7 separate regions of the Homo sapiens genome follow, and all the other regions are linked to region 2. The links are contacts of gene promoters, found by promoter capture Hi-C in blood cells and fetal thymus (Javierre and others, 2016). All regions are on one chromosome and are shown on one strand. Each heading gives the region's core, a stretch centred on a gene start or on the middle of the fragment in contact. The rest is flanking DNA. Distances are from core to core; before and after follow the strand shown.

Evidence for each region. The method cuts DNA at HindIII sites, captures the fragments that hold promoters and counts their contacts. A CHiCAGO score of 5 or more calls a contact.
Region 1: a contact is called between a fragment that was not itself captured here and the fragment with the promoter of SRSF7 in region 2, in 1 of 17 cell types (monocytes). The highest score is 6.2, in monocytes.
Region 3: a contact is called between a fragment that was not itself captured here and the fragment with the promoter of SRSF7 in region 2, in 2 of 17 cell types (naive CD8 T cells and total CD4 T cells). The highest score is 7.2, in naive CD8 T cells.
Region 4: the fragment with the promoter of EIF2AK2 here is called in contact with the fragment with the promoter of SRSF7 in region 2 in 1 of 17 cell types (activated CD4 T cells); the score reaches 7.6 in activated CD4 T cells.
Region 5: a fragment that was not itself captured here is called in contact with the fragment with the promoter of SRSF7 in region 2 in 1 of 17 cell types (total CD4 T cells); the score reaches 5.1 in total CD4 T cells.
Region 6: the fragment with the promoter of STRN here is called in contact with the fragment with the promoter of SRSF7 in region 2 in 1 of 17 cell types (neutrophils); the score reaches 6.4 in neutrophils.
Region 7: a fragment that was not itself captured here is called in contact with the fragment with the promoter of SRSF7 in region 2 in 1 of 17 cell types (monocytes); the score reaches 7.7 in monocytes.

The regions. Positions count from the first base shown.
Region 1 is chr2:37,192,721-37,195,738 of GRCh38, reverse strand. It overlaps a transcript of SULT6B1 not described here and the pseudogene RPL31P16. Among named protein-coding and RNA genes, the nearest start is that of CEBPZOS, 2.3 kb to the left of the region's middle. The HindIII fragment of the contact is 769 bases long and covers 980-1,748 here.
Region 2 is chr2:38,749,920-38,753,287 of GRCh38, reverse strand. It overlaps SRSF7 (serine and arginine rich splicing factor 7), which reads left to right and starts at 1,927. Exons shown (of 8, transcript NM_001031684.3): 1 at 1,927-2,059; 2 at 3,094-3,274. The coding sequence starts at 2,032. RefSeq lists an enhancer at 1,423-1,482 and silencers at 2,343-2,442, 2,653-2,842. The HindIII fragment of the contact is 14,475 bases long and covers 1-3,368 here.
Region 3 is chr2:37,225,163-37,228,312 of GRCh38, reverse strand. CEBPZ (CCAAT enhancer binding protein zeta) reads left to right here. Exons shown (of 16, transcript NM_005760.3): 2 at 1-769. Among named protein-coding and RNA genes, the nearest start is that of CEBPZ, 4.9 kb to the left of the region's middle. RefSeq lists an enhancer at 1,830-2,434. The HindIII fragment of the contact is 4,440 bases long and covers 1-3,150 here.
Region 4 is chr2:37,155,410-37,158,415 of GRCh38, reverse strand. EIF2AK2 (eukaryotic translation initiation factor 2 alpha kinase 2) reads left to right here and starts at 1,436. Exons shown (of 17, transcript NM_001135651.3): 1 at 1,436-1,508. RefSeq lists silencers at 1,137-1,326, 1,527-1,646 and an enhancer at 1,377-1,506. The HindIII fragment of the contact is 2,417 bases long and covers 1-2,266 here.
Region 5 is chr2:37,310,214-37,313,175 of GRCh38, reverse strand. The region is part of intron 2 of PRKD3 (protein kinase D3); the gene reads left to right. Among named protein-coding and RNA genes, the nearest start is that of PRKD3, 13 kb to the left of the region's middle. The HindIII fragment of the contact is 901 bases long and covers 1,088-1,988 here.
Region 6 is chr2:36,965,065-36,968,427 of GRCh38, reverse strand. STRN (striatin) reads left to right here and starts at 1,892. Exons shown (of 18, transcript NM_003162.4): 1 at 1,892-2,198. The coding sequence starts at 1,965. RefSeq lists a silencer at 1,402-2,211. The HindIII fragment of the contact is 8,803 bases long and covers 1-3,363 here.
Region 7 is chr2:37,075,102-37,078,112 of GRCh38, reverse strand. HEATR5B (HEAT repeat containing 5B) reads left to right here. Exons shown (of 36, transcript NM_019024.3): 4 at 1,094-1,202; 5 at 2,479-2,628. Among named protein-coding and RNA genes, the nearest start is that of HEATR5B, 7.8 kb to the left of the region's middle. The HindIII fragment of the contact is 1,382 bases long and covers 811-2,192 here.

The DNA of each region.
Region 1 (3,018 bases), core at 115-2,614, 1.6 Mb after region 2:
CATGGAAACAGAGAAGAGAAAAAGAATATAAAAGTATATTGAAGTACCGTGTGCAAGACAAAGCCTGGAACACCCAAAACAGGCACAGATCTACCTTCATCGAAGTTCTAGTCTAGTTAGGGGTATTTACCACAAATAACTGATGGAAAGTACACAATGATAAGGGCCTTGCTTCTAATCCGAGGAATCTGTAAAGGTTTTAGAGAAGGGGTGATAGCTGGAGCTAACTCTGTCCACGCCAAGTAAAGGAAGTGCCTCTGCAAGGTGCTCTGTGATTGCCCCAATTTTCCTAACACCCGCCCCACCCCTAGTCCAGCCCATGTGGTTCATCTGTGTAACTAAAGCATCATAAATTGTGAAAAACATATGAATTTAGGGAGAACAAAAACTTTCAGACCATATAGCAAGGCTCCACTACATTGGTTTGAAATACCAGAATATCAGTGTTAAAAGTACCAGGATGACAAAGCAAGATGAAAAAGCTATTGGGGCTTGGTGCGGTGGCTCACACCTGTAATCCCAGCACTTTGGGAGGCCAAGGTGGGCAGATAACCTGAGGTCAGGAGTTCAAGACCAGCCTAGCCAACAAGGAGAAACCCCATCTCTACTAAAAATATGAAAATTAGCTGGGTGAGGTGGAGCATGCCTGTAATCCCAGCTATTCGGAAATCTAAGGCAGGAGAGTTGCTTGAACCCAGGAGGCAGAGGTTAAAGTGAGCCAAGATCGTGCCACTGCACTCCAGCCTGGGCGACAGAGTAAGACTGTGTCTCAAAAATGGAAGGAAGGAAGGAAGGAAGGAAGGAAGGAAGGAAGGAAGGAAGGAAGGAAGGAAGGAAGGAAAGAAGGAAGGAAGGAAGGGAGGGAGGGAGGGAGGGAGGGAGGGAGGAAGGAAGGAGAAAGAAGAAAAGGTCATTGGAATGGTTCAGATTGAAAAAAAGAAAAGAGGAGAAAAAAAGCTTAAAGAAATGATAACAAGCTTTACCAACTTGGGCCTAGCAGAATGGCTCCTGCAAAGAACAGTGGCAAGAAGAAAATGGACCATTCTGCCATCAACGAGGTGATGACCCAAGAATACACCAACATTCACAAGCACATCCACAGAGTGGGCTTCAAGAAGCATGTCCCTCAGGCACTCAAAGAGATCCGGAAATTTTGCAATGAAGGAGATGGGAACTCCAGATGTGTGCATTGATACCAGGCTCAATAAAGTTGTCTTTGCCAAAGGAATAAGGAATGTCCCGTACCGTATCCGCGTGCAGCTGTCCAGAGGATGTAATGAGGATGAAGATTCACCAAATAAGCTCTGTACTTTGATTACCTATGTACCTGTTACCACTTTCAAAAATCTACAGATAGTCAGCCAGGCACGGTGGCTCATGCCTGTAACCCCAGCACTTTGGGAGGCCAAGATGGGCAGATCACTTGAGGTCAGGAGTTCAAGACCAGCTTGGCCAATATGGTGAAACCCTGTCTCTACTAAAAATACAAAAAATTAGTCAAGATCTCACTGCACTCCACCCTAGGTGACAGAAAAAGGCTTTGTCTCGAAAAAAAAAAAATCTACAGACAGTCAATGTGGATGAGAACTAACCACTGAATCTTCAACTACATCAAATATAACTATATAAATATAAAATTTCTTTCACGAAAAAACAGAAATTATAAGAAAGACTAAAATAATTGTATAGAAATGTCATGATTTCTGCAGGAAAATATATATAAACTAATAACGATATTGCACAAAGCTTGACATTTTGAGATAAGACACATTTTGGCCAGAAGGTTTGGAGCAGGAAAAGTGTAGACTCCAGTAGAAACTTTTACCAAGGGTCCTTTAGCGACAGTGCCTTCCTGGTCCTAGCCTGATTTACTAACTCTGGTAGAGGGATGCAAATGACTAGAAAGATGTGCTAGTTCTCTCCAAAGCACAGAAGCAGGCTAAAATCCCAGTCTTCTGTAGTGGCCATAGGGACCTCCACTTTAACAAATATGTACTAGGTTTGCTGTCCATTCTCCCATCTTCACCTTAAAGCCTAGACATTTCTTTTCATATTTTCTCCTTCTTCTCCTTCTTCTCCTTCTTCTCCTTCTTCTTCTTCTTCTTCTTCTTCTTCTTCTTCTTCTTCTTCTTCTTCTTCTTTTTCTTCTTCTTCTTTTTCTTCTTTTTTTTTTGGTAAATGTCTATAGACTGGAAAAAAACAAAGGAAAAGAAGGTAAGAGGGCATGGTGTCTTTAATGCCAAGGAAATAAACTTTATTTTATTATTATTATATTTTGAGACAGAGTCTCACTCTGTCACCCGGGCTGGAGTGCAGTGGCACGATCTCAGCTCACTACAAGCCCTGCCTCCCGGATTCAAGCGATTCTCTTGCCTTGGCCTCCCAAGTAGTTGGGACTACAGGCACGCACCGCCACACCTGGCAATTTTTTTTTTTTTTTTTTTAAGTAGAGACAGAGTTTCACCATGTTGGCCAGGCTGGTCTCAAACTCCTGAGCTCAAGCAATCCGCCTGCCTCAGCCTCCCAAAGTGCTGGTATTATAGGTGTGAGCCACCACACCCAGGCGGAAAGAAACTTTAAATAAGCCTCCCATGCAGCTGCCTCTGGGGCTTGAGCCAGGCCACAGCTGGCAAAGCCTGATAGGTCTGCGGTAATTTATCTCCAATATGGGTAAGACACAAGGAGCTGAAAGAAGCTAGGACTTCATATAACATGAGACCCACCTGGACTCATACGTATGACAGTTCAAACATATCACACGATACAGGTTATTCTGTAATTATTCACGGCTGGTATCCTCCCTCCATTATGCTTGCCAGACAACTCAGAGTTGAGTATGTAGAACTGTAAGGTTAACAGGTTGACCTAAGCCTAGACAAACTAAGAATCAGAGTTCCCATTACCAATCCCAAAGAGCCTCCTAAATCCTCCTATAATTACAGGCATTAGTGTCAGAACAAGATCCAACCCATTGTCTTTTTAAGTTTTTTACTCACTAAGAAGCAAGCAAGCAAACAA
Region 2 (3,368 bases), core at 678-3,177:
TAGAGACGGGGTTCCTCCATGTTGGTCAGGCTGGTCTCGAACTCCTGACCTCAGGTGATCCGCCAGCTTCAGCCTCCCAAAGTGCTGGGATTACAGGCATGAGCCACTGCGCGCGGCCTCAACAGTAATTTTCATAGCTTCTTAACAGAAGAAAGTCAACTTAGTGAGGCTTTACAGAATTTATATTTTATCTTTCAGATACCATATAATCTTTTTTTTTGAGATGGAGTCTTGCTCTGTCGCCCAGGCTGGAGTGCAGTGGCACGATCTCAGCTCACTGCAACCTCCGCCTCCTGGGTTCAAGCAGTTCTCCTGCCTCAGCCTCCGGAGTAGCTGGGACTACAGGCACACGCCACCACGCCAGGCTAATTTTTTGTATTTTAGTAGGGACAGGGTTTTACTGTGTTGCCCAGGCTGGTCTCAAACTCCTGAGCTCAGGCAATCCGCCCGCCTCGGCCTCCCAAAGTGCTGGCATTACAGGCGTGAGCCACTGCGCCTGGCCCCTATATAGTCTTTATAATTATTGTTTAATTCTTTTGAGAAGAACCTATAGATCTTTATAATTATTGTTTCTTTTGAGAAGAACCTTGTTAAGAAAAAAATCACCAAGACTAAGGGAGAACACATATACTCTACAGAGCTTCTATTTTCTTCTTAGAGATCTTCCTGAGAGAGATTAATTCTCTCCATAACTTAATCAACGTAAAAAATATGCATAAAATCATAGCATGACCTGGAAAGAATCCATGCTTTATTCACCAACTAGGCCTGCTTTCCCTGTACTCTCCATTCCACACCTATACTCACCAAATGAAGTTGCAAAAGACGAAAAAGATAAAAATGCAAATACCTAAATGTCTTTTTTTATGTACATTTCCAACTTTTGTGTATTCCAAGAATTTACGATGTAATGTCTATGTTTCTAGCAAAAAAGAACTTTTTCTCTATTTGTAGTTGGTGTCTAGAGCAATTCTAATGTAAAGAAGTTTTGCATTTATTTGGTACTGTTGAGTGGCTGAGCAGCAAGGCTGCTATTTCCACTGAGTGGAGATACACAAAGATGACTTAGGAGTCCCAGTCCTCAGGATCGGAGTATTGGTGGATCACACGTGTTACAAAGCAGAAAGCATTAGGAAAAGCAAATCAGTTACTTTGAGCTTCAGATGCAAATAATTTCCAAATTGTCACTGGCCAAAATGCTTTAAACATTCAGGGTTTTGTCACAATTTCAATATAAAGGGGGGAGGGGGGAGCGGGACCCCACAGCTCTATTCCTTTGTCTTTCAGACTCCAAGAACTCAGACCGTGGTGGTGCAAACTGGTGACTGGTTCAAAAGAAGTTGGAGGGGGCGTGTAGGACAGGAGGCTTTACCACCAGTCCCAGGGTGCGTCAAGGTCTATGGTGTAAAAACCACTACTCAGAATGGCGGGGTTCATGGACTTTTCACCATGGCCAAACCTTCGATTACCTCTGATGAGCCCCAAAGATCAGAGTAGCTGACTAGGCCAGGTCCCCCAGCAGAAGGGCGCGACGGCTGCAACATCAGCGGTTAAATTGTACAGCCTTTCATAGGCCGGTCTAATGCATCCGTACTAAGATTGTTAAGGCTGAGGGTCCCTAGCCTGGGGAAAAACGAAAGGAGGCAGAGGGTAGGGAGACGGGAAAGAAGACAAGGAGGGTGTAGAAAACGGGGAGAGGAGGGGGCGGGACAGCATGGGGAAGGCCTCAGGTTTACTGGAGAGATCGTGGCGTTCCCATAGAAACGTATCCCTCCGCCCATGACCCGCGTGTTAGTCTCTTCAGTTCCTTCCGCGTCGTTTCTTGGCTGTTTCCGCCCAGCTCCTTTGTGCCGCGCAGAACAACGAGATGACGCATGCGCAAAGCGCAGCGGCCGCATATATAAACGCGAACCCGGGCTCTTCCTCGTAGTGCCGCCGGGACTCTTGGCGGGTGAAGGTGTGTGTCAGCTTTTGCGTCACTCGAGCCCTGGGCGCTGCTTGCTAAAGAGCCGAGCACGCGGGTCTGTCATCATGTCGCGTTACGGGCGGTACGGAGGAGGTAAGAAGCTGGAGTCCGGTGAGGGACGTTGGTGTGGGTGTAGTGAGCACTGCGAGGCCGTAGGGTTGTCGCGGAGGTTGGGAGACGGTTATTCCGCGTGCGTAATGGCGGCTTAGGAGCACGCCAGACGAAGCCGGAGGCAGCGGAGGCGGGGTGCTGAAGGGAGACGGGATGGCGGGTGTACATCTCTGCCGAGTTCCGTACTCTTGGGCATTTTTGTGGCCCAATCCAGCCTAAAGCAGGGTTGAGATGACGGTTTTCGCGTTGCCTTTCTCGGAGCTGCCCGCCGGCCCCCCTCCCCCCCCGCCCTCGGCGGCGGCTGCCATTTTGCGCACATTGAGGACCGTGGTGGCGCATTTCCTCAGCGCTTTCCCGCCACTTCAGCGGACAGATCTGGCCGCAGCTGTAAGATCGTGGTTGTGTTTGAGATAGAACGAAATTGGCAGCTGTGAGCTGCATGTTCTCGTCAAACAATCGGTTAAATTGCGGAATGGGAATGGGGACGTAATCTGCGACTGGCGGCTGGGTTTTTTTTAGTTATTTCCAGCGCGGTTTATGGCTCTGGGGCGGGGAGCTGGAGTCTTGGGCGAGCCTGTGCCTGGGACGTTTGCCGCGGAGGACGAGAGCCGGCGCAGCCCTGCTCTCCTGGCCCGGCCCCTACCGAGGCCCTCCCGCCGCCGACGCCGCTGCCGCTGCGGGCCCGCGCGCTCCCGGTGCGCCCGGGGCTGCCGGGACTCATGGGTGGGGCCGGGCCAGGTTCCGCCCCACGCCTCGGTGTATCCTACCACGCGTTTCTGCTTGTGTTCGGGAGGGTCACCCCGCATTATTTAGAACGTTAAGAATTTTGTCAAAAGTCTAGTTTCTCAGGGATTTGCGGACTTTCACCAGTTTTACGACTAAGTTTTGTCTTGGATAGAGGGCATTAAATGTGCTTTACCCAATCTTGAGGATGGCCCGTTTTAAGGCAAATAAGTAATTGAAACTTGGGCCAGATTTTGCGTAACGTGCATTCTTCTATTTGCGTTTTTAAACAGAAACCAAGGTGTATGTTGGTAACCTGGGAACTGGCGCTGGCAAAGGAGAGTTAGAAAGGGCTTTCAGTTATTATGGTCCTTTAAGAACTGTATGGATTGCGAGAAATCCTCCAGGATTTGCCTTTGTGGAATTCGAAGATCCTAGAGATGCAGAAGATGCAGTACGAGGACTGGATGGAAAGTAAGTAAGATGTTATGAATCTTCTGTTCATTAAAATATACTGTGGCTAGATAATGAACTTAGTGCTAAATTTGGATTCTGAAGTCTGGAAGAG
Region 3 (3,150 bases), core at 388-2,887, 1.5 Mb after region 2:
TCACAGACCTTTTGCCAGACAATCGGAAGCTGAGGATTTTCAGCCAGCGTCCTTTTGACAAACTGGAACAGTTGTCCAGTGGCAACAAGGACTCAAGAGATAGAAGACTGATATTATGGTATTTTGAACACCAGCTGAAACACTTAGTGGCTGAATTTGTGCAGGTCTTAGAAACTTTAAGTCATGATACATTAGTAACCACTAAAACTCGAGCCCTTACCGTGGCTCATGAGCTGCTTTGTAACAAGCCTGAGGAAGAAAAGGCTCTTCTTGTGCAAGTGGTAAATAAACTGGGAGATCCTCAGAACAGAATTGCCACAAAAGCATCCCATCTGTTAGAGACATTACTTTGTAAACATCCCAATATGAAAGGAGTTGTGTCTGGTGAAGTAGAAAGGCTACTCTTCCGCTCAAATATCAGCTCCAAAGCTCAATATTATGCAATTTGCTTTTTAAATCAAATGGCTCTGTCCCATGAAGAAAGTGAATTGGCTAACAAATTAATAACTGTTTACTTTTGCTTTTTTCGGACTTGTGTCAAAAAAAAAGATGTTGAATCAAAAATGCTTAGCGCCCTTTTAACAGGTGTGAATAGGGCATACCCTTATTCCCAGACTGGTGATGACAAAGTAAGGGAGCAGATTGACACACTGTTTAAAGTGTTGCATATTGTGAATTTTAATACCAGTGTCCAGGCTTTAATGTTGCTTTTCCAAGTAATGAATTCTCAGCAGACAATATCGGATCGATATTACACAGCATTATACAGGTAAGAACATACCCTTCCAATATGAGACATGAAATAATAACTTGATGTAGTACAGCACAAGCAGTGCCCTCTGTGGGGCAAGAAAAAGAGTTAGAAAATTTGGTTTTAGGCCCCCTCAGCAGCTTGCTACTCGCCACCTTCAAGTAAGTCACTTAATCTTTGTTTCCCTGATGGGCACAAATTATATTAGATGCTTTGAATACATTTTTCATTTTGAGAGGTTGTAAAATACAGAAAAATACCCAAAAGATTCATTCATATCTACCACCTAGTATTTCAGAATTAACATTTTGCTATATTTGTTTTAAATCTTTTGGGATATTAAAGAAATAAAATTGCAGATATAATTGCAGTTTCCGTCTTCCCATTCTCCTCAGTCCTCTATCTTTTCCCTGCTGTCTTTCACACAGTTGAATGCATTCACACAGTAACTCATTCAACAAGTATTTTCTGAGTGCCTGCAGTATGGTGCCATGCTCTAGGTGCACAGGAGGCACAGCGAACAGAAATCCCACCCCTGGAGGCGCTCACATTCATATTGGAGGAGGTGGCAGAGAGGGGAGCGGTGGTAAACAAAGTATGTTAAGTAGAGAGTTTTGGGGGATGCAGGGTGCAGGGTTTTTTTTGTTGTTGTTTTTTAATGGAGATGAAGATTTTCTTTACTGAATTTTGCAACTCACCCATTGAGGCATCATATTTTCAGCAATGTGTAAACAGTTTGGAGCTGTTTAAGAGACAGTCGAACATAGCAACTGTGTTCAAGAAATTAATATATTTCCTTCTGATTCATTTTTATATTTTTACATAGATATATCTTGTGAGAAAATGTGGAGTAGTGGTTCGTATCTTAGACTTAAGCCACGCCGCCTGGGTTTGAGTCCCTGCCATTAGTTTTCTGTGTAATTTTGGGCAAATTACTTGATCCCCACTAAAAACCTATTGGTAGACATAATTCATCCCATGTTATCATGCTTAAGTGGATTTGTCTGTAGGATGGAGAGAAAAGCAGCTATCTCATATGATTATTATGAAGATTTTGAAACTTGCACAAGGTTCTACAGCTTGTAAATGACAGAACTGGGGCTTTAATGAAGGTTGGGAGGTTATGTGTGTTAACCCATGTAATCTTTCTATGTATATTAAGTGCTTAACAGTGCCTAACACTTAGTGCTATGTGAAATGTTGGCGGCTATCCTTATTACTGATAGTCATCCATGTTTCTTTAGTTTAATCCTCTTAACAGCTCTCCAGTCTGTGATGTAGGGGTGGGTTGCCCCTACACACCTGTGGGTGTTTCTCGTAAGGTGGGACGAGAGATTTGGAAAAGAAAAAGACACAGAGACAAAGTATAGAGAAAGAAATAAGGGGAACCGGGGAACCAGCGTTCAGCATATGGAGGATCCCGCCAGCCTCTGAGTTCCCTTAGTATTTATTGATCATCTGTCGGTGTTTCTCGAAGAGGGGGATGTGTCAGGGTCACAAGACAATTGTGGGGAGAGGGTCAGCAGACAAACACGTGAACAAAGGTCTTTGCATCATAGACAATGTAAAGGATTAAGTGCTGTGCTTTTAGATATGCATACACATAAACATCTCAATGCTTTACAAAGCAGTATTGCTGCCCACAGGTCCCACCTCCAGCCCTAAGGCGGTTTTTCCCTATCTCAGTAGATGGAGCATACAATCGGGTTTTATACCGAGACATTCCATTGCCCAGGGACAGGCAGGAGACAGATGCCTTCCTCTTGTCTCAACTGCAAGAGGCATTCCTTCCTCTTTTACTAATCCTCCTCAGCACAGACCCTTTACGGGTGTCGGGCTGGGGGACGGTCAGGTCTTTCCCTTCCCACGAGGCCATATTTCAGACTATCACATGGGGAGAAACCTTGGACAATACCTGGCTTTCCTAGGCAGAGGTCCCTGCGGCCTTCCGCAGTTTTTGTGTCCCTGGGTACTTGAGATTAGGGAGTGGTGATGACTCTTAAGGAGCATGCTGCCTTCAAGCATCTGTTTAACAAAGCACATCTTGCACCGCCCTTAATCCATTCAACTCTGAGTGGACACAGCACATGTTTCAGAGAGCACGGGGTTGGGGGTAAGGTTATAGATTAACAGAATCTCAAGGCAGAAGAATTTTTCTTAGTACATAACAAAATGGAGTCTCCTATGTCTACTTCTTTCTACACAGACACAGTAACAATCTGATCTCTCTTCCTTTTCCCCACACTGTGAGATACAATAATTTGGGCAAGGTCACACAGATATTAAGAGACCAAGTTAGGTGGCAAGTCCAGGTCCACTTGCTGTAGATTTCATGACATTTCATAGCACTGATTGCTCTGGTCCACTAAAAAGACTCAGAAGCCTTTCCACAACTCTTT
Region 4 (3,006 bases), core at 187-2,686, 1.6 Mb after region 2:
TCACCTGGAAATGCCACAAAAAGATGGCTCTGCCTCATGTCTACCTTCTAAACCTCCCGCCAGTGCTTTACATATAGGGGACTTAAGCTATGCCCAGGACCAGAGCTACAAGGAAAGTGTAGATTTTAGTTGTTGATACCCTGCAATGTGGGGTTGTTGGGGGATGGAGAAGGGAGGCTGGAGAGGATGCCTGCCTAGGTGTAATTTTTTTTTTTTTTTTTTGAATTGGAGTCCCACTCTGTCACCCAGGCTGGAGTGTAGTGGCATGATCTCAGCTCACTACAATCTCTGCCTCCCAGGTTCAAGCAATTCTCCCTGCCTCAGCCTCTGGAGTAGCTGGGATTACAGGTGCCTGCCACCACGCCCAGCTAATTTTTGTGTTTTTTAGTAGAGACGGGGTTTTGCCATGTTGGCCAGGCTGGTCCTGAACTCCTGACCTCAGGTGATCCGCCCGTCTCAGCCTCCCAAATTTCTGGGATTACAGGCATGAGCCACCGCGCCGGCCTAGGCATAATATTTAATGTATATTTGAGGTCTGTCTTTGGACCACCTTCCTCTCTTATCCCAGCTAAGATACTGAGAGTACAAACTCCTGGTTATAATTCTAACTCCGCTGCTTACTACCTGTGTTAATCCAAATTCTCTGTGCCTCAATACTCATTAGTCACTGTGCCAATGAACTCTGGAACTCTGTGTGACTCTGGGAGTGTGTCGCAGTCCATCAGGTGAGTAGAATTTCTATAAATCGAGGACTACTGGTGTTGGACTATGGTAGGAAGCTCCCTGGGGTACTGTAGGAAGCAGGTGTCTCTATTTAGCAGCAGGACTGGCCCACAGGTGCTTTTACAGCGGCTGGCAAGTGTCTGCTCATGAATGAATGGATGGGTGGGAGCGGAGTGAAGGAGATTACGCCCCCAGGCCTCTGATCCCCAGGCTTGTAAAGGTGAGGGGGCCGCGGTGTGGCAAGAGGGAAAGAGTGCTTTGGTGTTTACAGGCCCCGACTTGAACTGAATCCTGGCTTTGCCACTTACGAGCGGCAGGACCCCTGGGTGAGTTCATTTACTCAGTTTCCTCTATTGTAGAATGGAGCTGGTAAGATCCATCTTCCCAACCCCACCCCAAATATTTGTGTTGAGAGTAAGTGGAACCCTTGATTCGAGAACCTAGTGCGGCCAGCGGACTAGGCCAGCGGAGAACCCTAGGAGCCCCGGGGGCGGGGGATGGGGGTGCAGGGTCCTGGCCGTGCAGGGGCAGCACGTGGGTGCCAAGCCCGCCTGCCGGTGCCAAGCCCGCCCGCCGGTGCCAAGCCCGCCCGCCAGTGCCTCTCGCGCGCACTCTGGATCCAGCGCCAATTTACCCCAATCCCGTAGCAGACGAGGGCTTGTGCGAGAGGGGGCCGGGCGGCTGCAGGGAAGGCGGAGTCCAAGGGGAAAACGAAACTGAGAACCAGCTCTCCCGAAGCCGCGGGTCTCCGGCCGGCGGCGGCGGCGGCGGCGGCGGCGGCGCAGGTGAGCAGGGCAGGGGGCAGCCGAGGGAGCGCGGGGAGCGGGGGCCGGGGGGCCACGTACGAGGGGCTGCAGGCCCAGCCGGGGCGGGACTCGCCAATCCTGCGTCCCCAGCTCAGGACGCGGACGCTGATCCGAAGCCCCTGGCCCCGGCTGGGTCAGCACTGGGAGAGCAGGCCCAGGTCCGCAGCCCGGGTGTGGGGCCCTCCCCAAATCCAGGGAAAGGATCGTGGAGCGGGGTGGGGACTGAAAGCCATTTCCTTCCCGTGAAGAATTTTTATCAGTGCAAGTAACAAATATTTCCCAGGCAGCAGTTGTGGGGCGGGGTCTAGTGGAAGACGAATAGGCCTAGTGGCTTGACACATGGAAAATACGGAGGCCTGAAATACTCATAGACTGGCTGAACAATCTTTGGCTAAAAATCTCTTCCGTGGAGAGTTGCAGTAGTTTCCCAATTGCCTGGCCGCAGTTCCTGTTCCCACTCCGTATCCTCACCCCTGAACCTCCACCCCCTACCTCTTCTCCACACCTCAGCATCTGGAATGTTCCTTTAAGTAAGAACCAGACTCTCCCCTGCTCCGACCTTCCCCGTAGCTTTCCTGTCTCATCAGAATCCTATAAACATTTATTAAGGCTCACAGGCAAGGCCCCTCGCACCCCCTACTCCGGCCACGCTGGCTTCCTTGCTGTTCCTGGTGCACAGCCAAGCATCCTCCAGCCTCTAGGCCTTTGCACTGCTTGTTTCTTCTTTCTGGAAAGCTTCTTCCCCAGATAACTGCATGGGGAAATCCCTCCCTTATCCTGCACTGCTTCCCATGCCAGCTTATCAGAGCAGCCTTCCTCAAACAACCTGCCTATACAAGAAACCCCGCTCTGCCCTTGCTGTTCCCCCTTCCACTACTTCGGTTGTCAACATAGTAGTTATCACCTGGTGACATTTTCTTTCTTTTCTTTTCTTTTTTTTTTTTTTTGAGACAGATTCTCACTCTGTCGCCAGGCTGGAATGCAGTGGCACGATCTGGGCTCACTGCAACCTCTGCCTCTCAGGTTCAAGCGATTTTCCTTCCTCAGCCTCCCAGGTAGCTGGGACTACAGGTGCCCGCCAGCACAGCCAACTAATTTTTTTATTTTTAGTAGAGACAGGGTTTCACCGTGTTGGCCAGGCTGTATGTAGTCTGCTGGAAAGGAAGTGGAGGCATAGCCAAAATAATTTCTGGGCATTAGTAAGATGGACAAATATTATTTTTTAGTGATTATGATGGAGGTTTCTTCCAGATGAGTGAATAAGATGTAGAATCTGCTCCCCAAAGAGCTCACTAATTAGTTTAAAAAGCAGTCAGGGCTGTGTTGAAGGTTGGGCAAGGTGGAGTGGCAAGCCCATACTAGCTGACCCTCCAGCATCAAAGAAGGCTGTGTTGATCCTGATAGATGAGTGGATATTGGTGGGTACAGAGAGAATGCAGATATTGCACTATAAATGTAGAGAAAAGCAGGTGACAAG
Region 5 (2,962 bases), core at 289-2,788, 1.4 Mb after region 2:
CAGAGACCATATGGCCCACCAAGCCTAAAATACTACTGTTTGGCCTGTTGCAGAAAATGTTTGGAAATCCCTGTTCTAGTTTATATAATATGCATCTGATCAGAGTATCTTCAAACAATATCATAGCACTTTATAATGTAATATATACCTTAGAACAGTATATTTCTATTTTCTTCCTATTGTCATTTTTATATTTTATTTCTACATGCAGTCAATTATTGTTATTCATAGTAGTTATATTCTGTAAAGTCACTGAGAACACTGAATTAGCTAATAGTGAACGATTGCTCCTAGTAGGACCTAGTGGAACCTTTGTTCCTAGTGGGAGGATAGGTTCCTGCAAGCCTCTGGTCACATTTTCGTCAACCAATAAATACATAACCTTGTTTTATGTGTTTCTGTTTGAAGACACTTTATTTAATATATATAGTTGATTCATTAACATTGTACTCACAGCTAACAGCGCTGTTACTTATACCTGAATGTTATTGAACACGTGTAGTTACTCTATAAGGGACATCATAAACTTTTTGCACTTGAGAACACTAGACTGCTTCAGCACTGTGCTTGGGAGCCATTTTAAACAGAAGAGTCACTAACAAAAGATGAAAAAAATGCAGAAAATATGGCACTAAATAGACTGTGAAAAGGACTCTTATTTACACTATAAGAGCTGGAACAAGAAGGCAGAGCTATAACAAGACTTTGACTTGAAATATGTAGTACGATAGAAAAGCTGTGTTTGCCTCTGAGCTGTGCCATGACCACATTTGAAATAATACATTGTTTTAAATTTTTTTCACTCCCAGCCTACTATTGGAAATAAGTTGAAGGGGTGTGAACCAAGCTCCTTGTCAGATATTTCCACGATTCAGTAATTTTTGATGAAATAGTTATAATCAAATGAATAAACTCATAACATATATTTTGACAAATGCAGGCTTTATTGCTATGTTTGTGTCTATTTTTTCCCAACAAAATCTTAACCAGTCTGCTTTTGAACAGCCCACAAGATTTTCTGATTACTCTTATCATTGAGCATTTCCTGGTTAGCTTTTTTAAAAATTATAGGCAAAAGTTCAAAGCTTGTTTTGTCATATTTATGGAAAAAGAAAAAAACCTAGTTTTAAAAAATCTTTTACAATAGGCCACATGTTACAAGGATCAGGATGTTTACAAACTCGATGCATGTAGTTGCAAGGTTATATGCATTTTAAATGTGGACTTGATTTGTAACAGTGGTTTTCAACCCAGACTGCACTGGAGAGTAACTAGGAGGTTAAACAGGTCCTTCCTAGACCAATTAAATCAGGTCCTTTGGGAGTGGGAGTCTGTTTAAGAGTTCTATCTATGATTCTAATGAGAGCCACAGTCTAGAACCTCTAGTCTAATGGAAATTTGATAAGCCTAAGGACCAGATAAGTAACAATCTGAAGATACATTTTTTCAAATATTGAAATTGTATATTTTGTCCCGTGAGTGCCATCTTATTTTCCACATACTGAAAATATACTTTAAAAAAATTCTTAAAATTAAAAATTTCAGAGAGGTCTGCAGCTGATTATAGGTTAATGTGATAATTGCAAATTCTAGGTAGATTTTCAGTCTCCCTGGTGGCAGTTTGCAGAGAGCTAAATAGTGTTATACAATTATCCTACACCTGGGTGCCATTATCTGTTATGGCTTTGCTTCAGTTGAACAAATATTTATGGTGCACTACTCTTCAGTCACTGTGCTAGATAACTGTGGAAGCTCCCAAGATGAAACACAAATTCCCTGCCCCTGTGATTTATGCTCTAGAAAAGAAGATGAGCAAATGTCAAATTGCCCTAATATAAGGTAGATGTAAGTCCTGAAATAAAGGTACAATATGATAAAATGACTCAGGAAGGAGAGCTGTCACCTTGTTGGAAATATGAAATCATATTTTCAATCCTACTTTTTGCTTGCCATCACCAACTGTAGTACTTCACCTGGAGAAATAAGCTTTTGCTGGTACAATGCCATGCTACTACTTTGATAGCTTGTAGCATGGATAAAGCAAGATACCTTTAACATCCTCACTAGTCTGTGAGACAGCAGATACTGGTCTCTTTATGCACATATAGAGTCTGCTTTCTTTTGCTTGGTCAGATAAAAAGTTTTGTGATTCTGCTTCCTAGTGGTGCTCTAAATTTTATTTGTGTTAGAATTAGTTATTCAAGAAATTCGTGATAATCTCTGCCCTCTTCACTCTGCAGCAGTTAACTGGACAGACGTGTAGTTGCCAGCAATGAGCAGGTGACAGAAATATGTGATTGCTTATGTATAAGGTATTATTGCAAGATTACTTACAAAATAATGCTGATCAATCTCTGATCTCTGGTCCAGATTCCTTTCCTAAGCTTCAGACATGCCATGTTCTATCTTTTAACTAGCCTTGAACACCCTTTCATTGCCACATCCTCTGCTTAGACCTCCAGCAAGTTTTTTTCTGTATGGATGTTGGCATCCTATCCAACACATTGTATTTTAACATTCATAATGCTCATTGTAATTGTCTCTTTTCTTGACTGTATCCACTATAAAACTAAGCTTTATGATGCCAGATATCATGGCCACAGTAGGTGCTCAGTGAATATTCTTTGGTTGAATAAATAAAGGAAGGAATTAATATGAAGCAGTATAGTGTTATAGTTAAAACCATTAGTTTTGGGGTTAAACTGGAGTTCATTTCTACCACTTATTAGTTGTGTAATCTTGATTCCTTGTCTGAAAAATGAGGTTAAAAGTAGCACTCATCTCTCATCATTGTGTGTGTATATTAAATGATATGTTTCTAAAATGCTTAGCCCAATACTTAGCAAATAGTAATCACACAGTATATGCTAGCTAATCAATATTATTATGTATTAATCTGATCTTAGTGGTTTCCAAACTCAAAAGAAAACTTGAGCTATTACACTTCGAGGTCCCTCTCTGT
Region 6 (3,363 bases), core at 643-3,142, 1.8 Mb after region 2:
GCAAAAAAAGTATTGTGAGTAATAAAGTTGAACTACGAATTAAAATAGTTTTTGTATATGTGTGGTAGTCCAGATTATCTATACATTTAATTACATTTTGTGTCTGCTATGAATTGACTTAAAGGAATTGTCGGATATGTCGTCTCACTCAAGGCCTCATTGTTGACAAGTCTCAATTTTTTTGGAATTTAGTTCCTTGAGCTGTAAATGAGAAGACTGGGCTGTATCTCAAAGGACACTGACAGCCAAAATAAGTTATGGCACAGGGAATTTGGCCAGGCCTGGATCAATCTTTGATGATAATAAAGAATGAATTCATAAAGCAGAAACATTAATTAAGCGAGAGAAGAGAGTTCTCCATCTTTATTTGCAACCAGAGCAGACACAATGTGTTTCCTGTCCTTTCTGCAAGTAGCCATGGGAAAGGGGGGGAGGGGAGAGAGGACAGGGACAGGATGTCTTTCCCTGACATGTCACTCAGCAGCCTAGATCTTTACATTTTTTCATGGCCATCAAGTCTGATAACCCACAAGTACGTCCTACAAAACGTAAGAATTTCAGATAACTTGTTAGGGTGACAAAATAAGTGCTTAATTTCATTTGCATTTGTTAAATTGTTTTCAGGGGCCTTCCTTTTTGCCACTGTTGTAGTGTGAATTTATAGTGACATATTGTCAGACTTCGGAGAAGGCAAATATTTACAGAGAGTAACTTGAAAGGACTTTGGTGTACCTTTGGTAGGCGGATGCTGTTGCCAGTTGGCAGGTGAATCGTGAAAGAAACTGGGAACAGGACAAGTGAAAACGGAGAGGGGCCAGGATATCTAAGACCGCGCTAGGGAGCAGAAAGGGAACTTGCTTTTTCAAGGTGGTGTAGCTTTTAAATTAAGCCTTTGTGATATTTGATTATACGCCAATCTTTGATGACAGAAACGATGTCATTTATCTTAATATTCCCAGCGCAAGAGAAAACCGATAATCAAAATATTTGTTCAATTAAGTAGAGTAAAAATCAGCGGGAATAAGATAGGAAAAATGAGACCGAAATAACAGAACATCTATTATTGGATGCTAAAACTTTTACAGGATTTACTGCAGGAGGACTGCAAAGGGAAAGAAACTTCAACGGAGCAGTTTTTCAGATGGGCTGTCAACAAACCACAATTTGGAAGCAGCAGCAGAAAGCTGCGGCGTTGTCTTAGAAAGGTGATCGGCGTTCCTTAGAAATGAAAACTGGTCAGGTAACAGGTTTGAGCCCCTCGAGTCAAAAGAGAAAGGCAAGAGCGACAGCGACCCGCAGATTGGCAGAATGGAGGAGCGTCTAGGGTGAGAGAAACTCCGAACACGAAGCCGAAGCGAGAGCACGCAGGGCAGCTGGCGGGAGAACCCCGGTCCCGCGGCCGCACCGGGTAGCTCGCTTTGAGCCTGTTCCTTCACAGAACGGCCAGGAAGCCTTAAAAGATGTGCAGCTCGGGCAGGTATCTTGGCGTGACAACTTCCGTGTGTGTGTGTGTGTGTGTGTGTGTGTGTTTTTGAATGCAACAGGGTGCGCCGCCCGCGAACTTCCGCGTGCGAGGAAGACTGGAGACCCGCCCGCCCGCGCCCAGCCGGCCCCAGAGGAAACCCGCTCTCCCCGCCCAGCCGGCCCCCTACGCGGCGAGCCGGGGCGGGGCGGGCCCGAGGCCACGCCCAAGCTGAGGCACAGCCCTACAGGCCGCCCGGGCCGCGCTAGCCCGCGCCCCGCCCCGCGACTACATTTCCCGGCAAGCCCCGGGCCGCCAGCGCGCCGCAGTTGACCCATTTCCCGGCCCGTCACGGGCTCGGCCGGCCCCCGCGCCCAGGAGGCTGCTCCCTGCTGACTGGGGTGTGGGCGGGAGCGGCGGAGGGAGGAGGAGGCGCTGCTTGCCGCCGCTGTTGCCTCCGCTGCTGGGCGCCGGGGCAGCTCCCCGGGTATCTGCGGCCGCCATGGACGAGCAGGCGGGTCCCGGCGTCTTCTTCAGCAACAACCACCCGGGCGCCGGCGGTGCCAAGGGGCTCGGGCCTCTGGCGGAGGCTGCCGCGGCCGGCGACGGGGCGGCTGCGGCGGGGGCGGCCCGAGCCCAGTACAGTCTCCCGGGGATCCTGCACTTCCTGCAGCACGAGTGGGCCCGCTTCGAGGTGGAGAGAGCCCAGTGGGAGGTGGAGCGGGCGGAGCTGCAGGTAAAGACCCTCCCGGCCTGGCCGTCTTCATCCCGCCTCTTTGCTCCCTTCCGCCCCGCCCCGGACCCTTCTCCCCCTCCCCCAGCCTTCTCGCGTCCCCTCCCCCTTTGCTGCCGCCCATCCCACCCGGAGCCCCGTCCCCTTCTTCTCTTCGCCTTTTGCCTTTCGCTGACCCCACCTCGACCCTGTTCTCACTCCCGCTCCTGGTGCGTTGTTTACCCTCCCCACGCCTGTTCGTCCGCCCCATCCCACTCTTAACTCCCAGACTCATTTCAACTCTCTGGCCATCCTGCATCTCAGGGCTGCCCTCTCGGTTTACTAATTGGGCTGGCAGTAGTTTTGAGAGACGCGGAGCAAATCGTCCGCTGCCCTGGTGTGCCCCTTCCTAGGTCTAGAGACAGTCTCCGCAGAACGTGCCGGCTTTGGCCCCTCTCTTCAAGGAAGGTGATCAAGAAGACAACAGAAGTTGTGTCAGGCCTTGAGTCGAGGCGAGAAGTTGACGTTGGGCAAAAGTGTTATTCATATATCAGATCCCTTTTTTTATATATGTAAATGTCTGTTCTCCACTTTCTTCCGACCCCCCGGCCCCCTCCCACGTTTCTTTTAGGTATTTCCAATTAATGCATTTTGAATGAAGGACCTAGATGATCGCAGTCAGAGAGAATGGTTAAGAGGTGGTTCCTGTTCTCAGAATCTGAAACTTCCCAAGGGTTAATTTTATGTTCAGTGTTTTGGGAGATTTTCTTGTGCTTTAAAAGGAACTAAAGGGACTTTGAAGTTAGTTACATTGCCTTGCATAATCTGCAAGATAAAGTATATCCAGGGAGGAGATAACTGTGGGCTCTGAAAAGAATGAAAGTGAGGCTGATACTTTACAAGCCATTCAGAATTGGTGAATAGGTTTTCAGTGGTTGTTCTTAAAACTTCCAGGGCATACACACCAATTTCAAAAGGAACTTAAAGAACTATGAATAGTTGTGCCTTTCTGTTTTACGGGCTAAGCCTGTATACTTATGAAATTTGAGTATAGTTTTAGTTGGCAAAACACTTGAGTTTAAAATGCTACCCAGTGTGTCACTTTTTTTGGTAACATGTATTTGGCGCTTAAGAAAAAAAAGAAGAGGAGAAATCTGTTAAATAGAATCATGTGCTGGAACAGGCTCTG
Region 7 (3,011 bases), core at 252-2,751, 1.7 Mb after region 2:
ACTACACATAGCTATTAGATGGTAGGTTCTAGGATTTAGGCACAGGTCTGCTAGACTCCAAAGCATCCGCTCTTAACCACCATGTCCTACTTTTGCCTTTAAGCTAAACCCACAGCTATTCACTTACTATTGACCTAAGTGACACTGGGGTCATTTCTTGCTCCTGAAGAAGTGTGTTGCTATTATTACTTTATTCTTCCAAGTGTTCTGTTAATGTAATTTAGATTAAATTTTACAGGTTTACTAATAGTATAGTATTATTTGTAAATTAAGAGGTAGACACTGTGAGCAATGCAAATATGTGAGCTATATTCCGTTTCTGGAGTTTACATTTCCACTGGCAGGACAAGATAGAGACATATAAAATGGTCAAGTTACAACACAGTAAATGATATAATTTTGTCAAAATCAGTGATTGACATTAAGTGTTACATATAATGAAAGAAGAGAGGGATTGTTGAGGCTTGACATAATTTGGAAAGTCTTCATAGAAGCAAAGCTTAGGGGCCGGGCGCTGTGGCTCACGCCTGTAATCCCAACACTTTGGGAGGCCGAGGCAGGCGGATCACCTGAGGTCAGGAGTTCGAGATCAGCCTGGCTAACGTGGTGAAACCCCATCTCTACTGAATATACAAAATGAGCTGGGAATGGTGGCATGCACCTGTAATCCCAGCTACTCAGGAAGCTGAGGCAGGAGAATGGCTTGAACCCAGGAGGCAGAGGTTGCAGTGAACCAGGACCACACCACTGCACTCCAGCGTGGGTGACAGAGTGAGACTTTGTCTCCCCCTAAAAAAAAAAAGAAAAGCTTGGATTTCTTCCCAAAGAATGGGTATGATTTATTATGTACATATATAGATTCTTTTGTATTCCTAACAAGAATACAATTTAACTATAGTATTTAACAAGAATACAGTGTAAATAGAGTATAGTATTTGTTGCAGTTATGAAGCATAAATTGTTTTTGATAGTTGAAATTAAGGATTATAGCCAAAAGTGTCCTAGACAAATGCAAATTGATTTCTAAAAATGAGAAAAGTATAATTGTATCATTAACCTGGACAATGACTAGTGAAGTTGTCACTTCTTACAGGGCTGCGGTGGCTTGTGTCGGAGCATTTTATGAAAAAATGGGGAGAATGTTGGGCAGCGCATTTCCAGAAACGGTAAATAATCTATTGAAATCTCTGAAAAGTGCAGAGGTAAGTTTTACAACCAATATTATTTGAATATTTGCTTGTGGCAAGAGTTAGATGTCAGCTAAAATATGTTTGTTTCTTTTTCTGTCACTGTGGTCTCATATTGCTTAGCAAGGAGGTAATTACAAATTATTACTTGTCCCTTCTTTTAATGTATATCAGGGGGAAGGGAAAGAATGCTTTTCTTTGACAAGGAATAGGTTTACTTGTTATTTTTTATTTAGTCCTATGGTACTTTTGGATTGGCTTTTTTTTTTTTCTTTTTTTTGGTGCCATAGCTAATGTGTTAATTTCCTGGTTACTGTAATAAATTACCTTAGACTGGGTGGCTTAAAACAACAACAATTTATTGTCTCACAGTTCTGGAAGCTGGAGGTCTGCGATAAAGTGTCAGCAAGGCCATGTTTCCACTGAAGGATCTAGGGAAGAATGTTTCCTTTCCTTCTTACCTTCTAGTGGTTGCTGGAAATCTTTGATCTTCCCTGGCTTGTAGATGCATCTCTCCCATCTCTGTCTCCTTTGTCACATCACCTTTTTCCTGTCCCTTTGTGTTTTGTGTCTAAATTATTTCCCTGTTCAGTGATACCAGTCATTGGATTAGAATTGGATACCTTTTCTGGGAACTATTTGTCTATTCATTCATTAAAAAAGAATTGAGGACTTATTATTTGTCAGGCATTAAACATACAAAGATGGTCCTGACCTCAAAGAACTTACAGTTTAGTGGAAGAGAGCTAAGTGTGAATAAGCATTGTGATACACTGTGATGAGTATACTATCAGAAATAACAATAAGCACTATGAGAATATGGATATAACAGTTTGAGTTAGTCACAAGAAGATGAAGGTTTGCTGTATTTCTGACATGTTTTTTTAAATGTGTTGGATGTTTTCTGCTTCCTTTTTTGGATCATTTATATATTATTTCTCAACTTTTTTACTTAATATTTTACGTTCTGAAATATTTTATATATTGAGATATGATATTGAAGCTTTTGAATCTCTTCATGTTTTCATTATATTGTATGTACTTCAGTAATTCATAGAAATATTGGAATATATTTACTTAAAACCTAATTTTTTAGAAAGATATTATTTAATTGACTATTCTTACTTGCCAGGTACTTTCTAGAATACTTAATTTTATTGTACTTTTCATTATTTACCGTTTATAATTTGGAGGTAAGACCATTAGACCCAAAGAACTTTTGTCTTGGTGTGTTCTTGTTTAAATATGGAATTTATTTTACAAAATAGTTTTGTTTTGTATACATGTCTAGTCTCAAGGGCGAAGTGAAATCTTAATGAGTCTACAGAAAGTTCTAAGTGGACTGGGTGGTGCAGCAGCTTCCTCCCATCGTGATATTTACAAGAATGCCAGGTCTCTCTTGACTGATAGGTCAATGGCTGTTCGATGTGCAGTGGCCAAGGTTAGTACTCGACCAATTTAGAATACTGCTCTTTATCCTTCTTGCTCTTAAACAGTCAACGATTTTTTTTTCTTTTAAAATTTTAAATTATGTTTTGTGTTCCAATGGATTAGTTTCATTTTCTAGAATTATATATAATAGTATCACATCATGAGATGTACTTTTGTGTATGTGTATTCTGGCTTCTTTCACTTAGTATAATTGTTTTGAAATTCATTTATGTTGTTATATGTATCCATAGTTCATTCCTTTTTATTGCTGAGTAGTATTTCATTGTATGGATATGTCACATTGATTTGTTCACTCACCTGTTATAAACATTTGAGTTGCTTCTAGTTTTGATTATTACAAAAAAACTGCTGTGAACATCTGTATATAAGTTT